Regions from separate parts of the Homo sapiens genome. Here region 2 is linked to region 1. The links are contacts of gene promoters, found by promoter capture Hi-C in blood cells and fetal thymus (Javierre and others, 2016). All regions are on one chromosome and are shown on one strand. Each heading gives the region's core, a stretch centred on a gene start or on the middle of the fragment in contact. The rest is flanking DNA. Distances are from core to core; before and after follow the strand shown. Region 1 holds the start of YES1 (YES proto-oncogene 1, Src family tyrosine kinase). Region 2 overlaps USP14 (ubiquitin specific peptidase 14).

Evidence for each region. Contacts are between HindIII fragments. The CHiCAGO score rates a contact against its expected background, and 5 or more counts as called.
Region 2: a fragment that was not itself captured here is called in contact with the fragment with the promoter of YES1 in region 1 in 1 of 17 cell types (activated CD4 T cells); the score reaches 6.1 in activated CD4 T cells.

The regions. Positions count from the first base shown.
Region 1 is chr18:810,506-814,086 of GRCh38, forward strand. YES1 (YES proto-oncogene 1, Src family tyrosine kinase) reads right to left here and starts at 1,737. Exons shown (of 12, transcript NM_005433.4): 1 at 1,609-1,737. RefSeq lists silencers at 1,344-1,433, 1,504-1,563, 1,614-2,123 and enhancers at 1,855-2,397, 2,398-2,939. The HindIII fragment of the contact is 10,737 bases long and covers 1-3,581 here.
Region 2 is chr18:164,879-168,117 of GRCh38, forward strand. USP14 (ubiquitin specific peptidase 14) reads left to right here. Exons shown (of 16, transcript NM_005151.4): 3 at 1,909-1,941. Among named protein-coding and RNA genes, the nearest start is that of USP14, 7.9 kb to the left of the region's middle. The HindIII fragment of the contact is 966 bases long and covers 1,226-2,191 here.

The DNA of each region.
Region 1 (3,581 bases), core at 487-2,986:
ACCTAACTACGAAATTAAAGCCATTATAACATTACAGTGGTTACAACAGAGTATATATTTTAAGAGCCCTTTTATCTTTTATCCTGGAAACATGGATATAAACTGTTTTGTTTTCAGATCAAAGGCAATTGTCTTTTTCAAATGTAGGACCCTCTGAATTGTCAACCAGCATTTAAAATCTCCACCGACTTTTAGCTAATGTCCAAAAATAAAAATACAATTTAACTTCCTTTCCTTACATGTCAATTGTGGCAGGGGTCTCACACTTATAAGCAAACAAACAAAAACCAAAAAACCATATATATTATTTGCTAAAGTAAAACTTTCTTACTGTACAATATATGAACATCGTAAGTGATGCATACAAGATCCTTGGCTAATACAAGATACTCCTTTATTACCTGACCATTCAAAATGCTTCCTGTCCACCGTGTGCCAAGCACTGTGATAGTTAAGATATTAGATTTACCATGCACTTTTCCTTAAATGCACAGTCACGTGTATACATTTAGTAATACTTTCCTTAGTGCGTAATTTAACTTTAGAAGTGTAACAGGATGGTTTAAATATTTAAAATTATCAAGGTATCTTTGGCACTGTAATCTTACAGTTATAATACATGAAGATACTATAATCATATCATGTGAAATCGACTGTGAAAACACACACCCGTGGAACGTATATACATAATAAATGGACATAAAATTGTGCTTCCACCAAAGACTTTCATTATTTCCTTTAGTAATTTATAATTATACAGTATGTTATTCCACGCCTGTATCAATTAATTATGCAGAAAATGATTCAACCAAATCCGAACTGTTAAGTCCTACTCATTACAAAACAAAAACTAAAGTCCCTACACCAGACTTGATTTTCAAAGAGCTTCTTAAAACAGCTCTGCCCCATGCCCAATAAAGTGAAAGCTGGAAGCAATTATCAAGAAGAAAAACACACTTTAAGACAATTTTCTTTAACACATGTGGACAGGGAACCGAACGCAACGGGAGGCGGAGTGGCATGATTCCGTAAAAGTGGACGCTGAATGGTAAATTTCCCAACCCCCAACCCAAAACAAAGGAAAACTTTAAACATGTTGCGGTTTTCAATCAAACCAAGTAAAGCCAGAAAGGCTCATCCACTCGCCCCACACACCCGCTCCTCTCCCCGCACAGCTGCTACCGGCGTCGGCCGATACACAGACCCCCAGCCTTTAGGACCCAAAGGGGCCGCTTCCCTCGCCCCTACTTCGGCCGTAGGGGCAAAAATAAACCTCTCCTCCCCGTCGCCGGGCGGTCCACACGACCCCAAAGACAAGGGGTGGGGAGTGTCCCCACGCCCCTGGAACCTCAGGTCGGACTTGGGCGGGACCCGGCAGGTCTGGACAGGGCAGAGACCGAGTCAGGGGCGAGCAGGTAGCGCGGGGAACGAGACAAGCCCGCCGGGCGATCCGGGGGAGGGGAGAAGTTTCTTCCCAACTTCCCGACTCGGGCCCGCGGGGGCGGGGAACCGCGGCGGCGGCGGCGGCGGCGGCTCCGGGCGCTGGGGCCTAGCCCTGTCCGGGCAGAGGTGGAACCCTCCGCCCGCGGGGCCCCACCGGGTCCTTACCTGTCCTCCGGCCGCGCTCTCATGAGTCGCTGCTACCGCAGCTCGAGGTGGCGGAGGGCGGAGGCGAGGCCCGCGGGCCCTCTCCCTCCTCCACCTCCTCGTCCCGGGGCGCCCGGCGGCAGCAACGACGGCAGAGCCGGCCCGGGACGCGTTACTTCAGGAGGAGGGAGTTCCCGGGCTCCCCACGCCTCGGCCTCACTCTCCACCTCCTCCGCCCCCCCCCCCCGGCCCCGCCCCCTGACTTCTAGCGGGGGCGGGGGCTGCGGGTACCTGCGCGCGCCGCCGTCCGCTCACCGGAACTCGGGCCACGCCGGCCCGGCTCCGGGGCCCCCAGCCTTCCGGCGCCTACGCCCCCGTCAGGTCCCCTCCGCGGGCTCCGGGCCGCTTTGCTGTGGTCAGGATAGGCGACCGGTCCGTGTCACTTCTCCCGACCCAACATGGCGGCGGGGTCCGGGGCGGATTCCCGGGGGCGGTGCAGGCCGAGGGGGCGTGAGGAGGAGGTGCTTCCCTGCCCGGAGAGCAGGCCCGCGGCGTCCCTTCCCACCCGCGAACCCACCGACGCTCGGCTGCCGCGGAGATTGAATGGAGCGCTCCGATTCTGCCCCTCTGCCTTTCTCTGTTCCTTGGCCCAGCTCTCAGTAGTGGCCAGGGCTTTGGGGCTTGCTTTTGTGGGGGAGGACGGGGTTGAGTTTTTTTGGTTGGCTGTTTGCTTCTCAGCGCTACGCTTCCGCACCCTTTGTCGTTGGTAGTAAAATCTCAAGCCCAACCGCGTGAGCCGGGGGCGTTACTCACACCCTCATCACCATCCTGATCGCCGTCCAAAAAACGTTCACGTCTTGCCTCCTTCCGAGGCAGGGATCCTGTCCCTGCCCCCAGGAGCTTCCTGTTGACTGTAGGTCGAACCAGCCTTGCCGGGAGGGGAACCGAAGCTGAGTTCTGTTTGGCGACTATCCCAGTCATGGTGGCTTTGGCTTATGTTGGGACAGCGTTTTTCTATATGATGCTGGCGGCAGCCCAGTGAGGGAAGTGCAACAAGTATGGTTCTCCTGCTTGTCAACTGTGGAAACAGCGACCCTGAAAGTGGAGGAGCCACAGCTGGAATCGTGTCCGTCTGAATACACGCACCTTTCCTATGAGCCTTGTAAAGCCAGTCGTTGAAGAAGGGGGAGGACCCGGAAGGATGGGGTGGGGGCGTAAAGATGAAGGTTAATCAAGGTCCTCATGGACTGAACCTTGAGGCCCTTCTGCTGCAGTCACTTTTGCCCTATCAGACTTTTAGAGTAACTTCCTCTCTTTATTTCCTCTTTGGTGGGGTTATCAGAATTATTTTGTGACTATTGGTTTCCTTTGCGGTTTTTAGTGAAATTCAGAATCATCTTCGACGGATAGGAAATAGTGCAATCATATGTGTCAGTATTCCGGTATTCTAGGAACTTAAGGAAATGCATATAAGGGTTTGAACATTTTTTTCTTCAGCTCACTAAATGAACGAAAGGTAGGCGTAGGCGTTAAAGAGACACATAATGTGGAACGATGCTGTATTTTCTTAGCTACTAAAACTTCATTTGTCATTGACTGTCTCAGGGCTTTAAAATTTTATGTAGGTCTATATTCAGCTTTTATTAAAATAGAAAATTCCTTGAGCTGTTGCCTTTCTTCACTAAATAGAGATAATTTCGTCTTCCTAAACACTCAGTCTCAAAAATCACCTCTAAAATAGGCCGGGCACAGTGGCTCACACGTGTAACCCCAGCATTCTGGGAGTCCAAGACAGGAGGATCACTTGAGTCTAGGAGTTGGAGACCAGCCTGGGCAACATGGGAGACCTCCTATCTATTTAGTAAAATATATTTTAAAAAATAATAATGAAATGAAATAGTAGTTTGCCCCAGTTTAAGGGGTAAGGTGGCTTTGAAGATGTTCTATATGGAGTTTTAAAGTTGGGAGAGTATGTCAGAATGTCACCTACAAGT
Region 2 (3,239 bases), core at 459-2,958, 650 kb before region 1:
CAGTTAAGAATCCATCCCTGCCAGCATCATTGATGAAGGACTGCAGAAAAGACAAGAAGATATCTATTATTATTATTATTTTTTTTGGGATTGAGTCTCCCTCTGTCACTCAGGGGCTGGAGTGCAGTGGCGCCATCTCGGCTAACTGCAACCACCGCCTCCCGGGCTCAAGTGACTGTCCTGCCTCAGTCTCCCGAATAGCTGGGATAACAGGTCACCACCACCATGCGTGACAAATGTTTGTATTTTTGGTAGAGACAGTGTTTCACCATGTTGGCGCTGGTCTCGAACTCCTGACCTCAAGTGATATGCCTGCCTCGGGCCTCCCAAAGTGCTGGGATTACAGGCGTGAGCCACCACACCCGGCCTCTATTATTTTTAATAATATAAGTATAGCTTTAAAAAATACTTCCTTCAAGGGTTAGATAAAATGCTAAAGATCTATAGTTAACTTTAGAGATAAAGACAGGCTACCCCCACTGGGCAGTAAAACACACGTTGGAGGAAAATCTTTGTTTACCCCCGAAGGTACAGTATGAACCTTTGGCCTTTAGTGAACTTCATAGCCTAATCTATGCTGAACACTGTACTAGTGGTATGCTGTCGAGAATTATAGAAGTATGCGAATTAAATGAAACTGTGACTGCTAATGGTTACCATTTATTGAGTACTTATTTTATGTCAGGCTTTTATTATATTTTCTTTAATTCTCAGCTGTATGTTATCCATATCTTATATATGAGGAAATTTTATAAATGAGTGTCAAAGAGGTTTAAGTAACATAGTAAGGCACCAAAAGAGCATATGATTTATACATCAAGCAGATCTGTGTTCACTTCCCAGTTTTGTGTGACCTTGGGTAAGTGATCTTAGGGGGCATTTATAGTTATCATTCATTATGTTTAGCAGTCATAGACCTTAAATTGAGAAGGGCCTTTAGGAAGTTACCGTTCCATTTTAAAGCAGATAAAAGAGATAATTAGTGGCACCAATGAAGGGTAGACAAGCATATTGGGTACCCGATACCTTCTATAAAAGGGAGTAATATAGAATCGACTTTATCCTATGAGGGGAAAGGCCTAGCTGTAGTTAGTAAAAATATTACTCTGGACTAATCATGCATTTAAAAAAAAAATTCTTGATTTTTATTCAACATATTGAAAGGAAAGTATATACTTGCTTTATAGATGCGTTATAGACATTAACTCTTCATTCTTGCCACGTAAGCTTGTTATTTATTAGCTCTGCTGGTTCCAAACATCCAAAAAATAGGATCTATCATTTGTCATTAGTCAAGTGTTTTTTAGTACTTGCTAAAAGTATTTTTTTATACTTATGTGTTTTTTAGTATTTGATGCTGTAAATACAGGTTACTGCCTTTTGTATTGTGTTACCTTATGCAGTTGAAGCAAATTATTTGAAACCCTGGCTTTAGTACCACTTGTGTTTAAAAAAAATTTTTGTTTTTTTTTGAGATGGAGCCTTGTTCTGTTGCCCAGGCTGGAGTGCAGTGGTGAGATCTCGGCTCACTGTAACCTCTGCCTCCTGGGTTCAAGCAATTATCTTGTCTCAGCCTCCCGAGTAGCTGGAATTACAGGTGTGCACCACCATGCTCAGCTACTTTTTGTATTTTTAGTAGAGATGGAGTTTCTTTATATTGGTCCGGCTGGTTTCGAACTCCTGACCGCAGGTGATTTGCCTGCCTCAGCCTCCCAAAGTGCTGGGATTACAGGCGTGAGCCACTGTGCCTGGCCAAAAAAAATTTTTTTAATTGCCATAATTTTAAATAAAATCTGCATATAGGATAAATTTTATTCTGTTTTGAAGTACATTAAAATAAATTGATTATTAGATTGTGTTCAGCTTGTACAGTGGTGGTTAAATGTCTTTTGTTTGTCTTTGAAACAGGATGATGATTGGGGAAACATCAAAATAAAAAATGTAAGTATTATCTTATGAACGTTTATTATAATGCAGTAACCTCATTATGATACCAAAATACATTCCAGATGACTTTTTTTCATGTGTATATCCAGTTGTTCCAGCACTATCTGTTGAAAATACTTACCTTTTCCCATTGACTTGTGTTGGGCTCTTTCTTGAAAAGTAGTTATAGGTTTGTTTTTGGGTTTTTGTTTCATTGATCTAGTAGATTAAAGTTACACTAGTACCAAATGGTTTTGATTACTAAAGCTTTATAATAAAAGCCTTGAAAAAAAAATTAGCTGGGTGTGGTGGTGCACGCCTGTAATCCTAGCTACTCGGGAGGCTGAGGTGGGAGGCTGAGGCGGGAGGCAGAGGCAGGAGGCAGGAGAATCACTTGAACCTGGGAGGCGGAGATTGCAGTGAGCCGAGATCGTGCCACTGCACTCCAGCCTGGCAACAGAGCGAGACTCCGTCTCCAAAAAAAGAGTCTTGAAATAAGATAGTATATGTTCTTATGCTCTCCAACTTTCTCCTCTTTGAGATTTTGTTTGAGATTACATTGAATCTGTAGCTCAATTTGGGGAGAATAAACATCTTAACAATATTGAGTATTAAAATCCCTGAATATGATGTACTTCCTTATTTATTTAGGTCTCTGTTTTTCTCTTAGCAGAGTTGTAGTTTTTAAACATAGAGGTTTTGCATGAGTGGTTTTTTTTTTGAGACAGGGTCTCACTCTCACGTATGCCGGAGCACAGTGGCATGGTCATGGCTCGCTGCAGCTTTAAACTCCCAGCCTCAAGCAGTCCTTCCATCTCAGCCTTCCAAGTAGCTGGGACCACAGGCGGGTGTTACCATGCCCAGTTAATTAATTAATTTTAATTATTTTTTGTAGAGATGGGGGTGTCACTATGTTGCCCAGGCTGGTCTTGAACTCCAGGGCTCAAGCGATCCTCCTGCCTTGGCCTCCCAAAGTGCTGGGATTAACAGGTGTGAGTCACTGTGCCCAGCCCTTGCATGACTTCTCTTAAATTATTGGAACTTAACATTTGTTCGCTGCTTAAAATAATATTAAAAAATATTTCCAGTGTTCATGGCTAGAATGTAAAAATACAATTGATTTTTCTCTCTTTTTTTTTTTTTTTTTTTTGAGACAGAGTCTCACTCTTATTGCCCAGGCTAGAGTGCAATGGCGCGATCTCGGCTCGCTGCAACCTCTGCCTCCCGGGTTAAAGCAATTCTCTTGCCTGAGCTGGGATTACAGGCGCCCACCACCACGCCCAGCTAACTTTTGTATTTTTAGTAGAGATGGG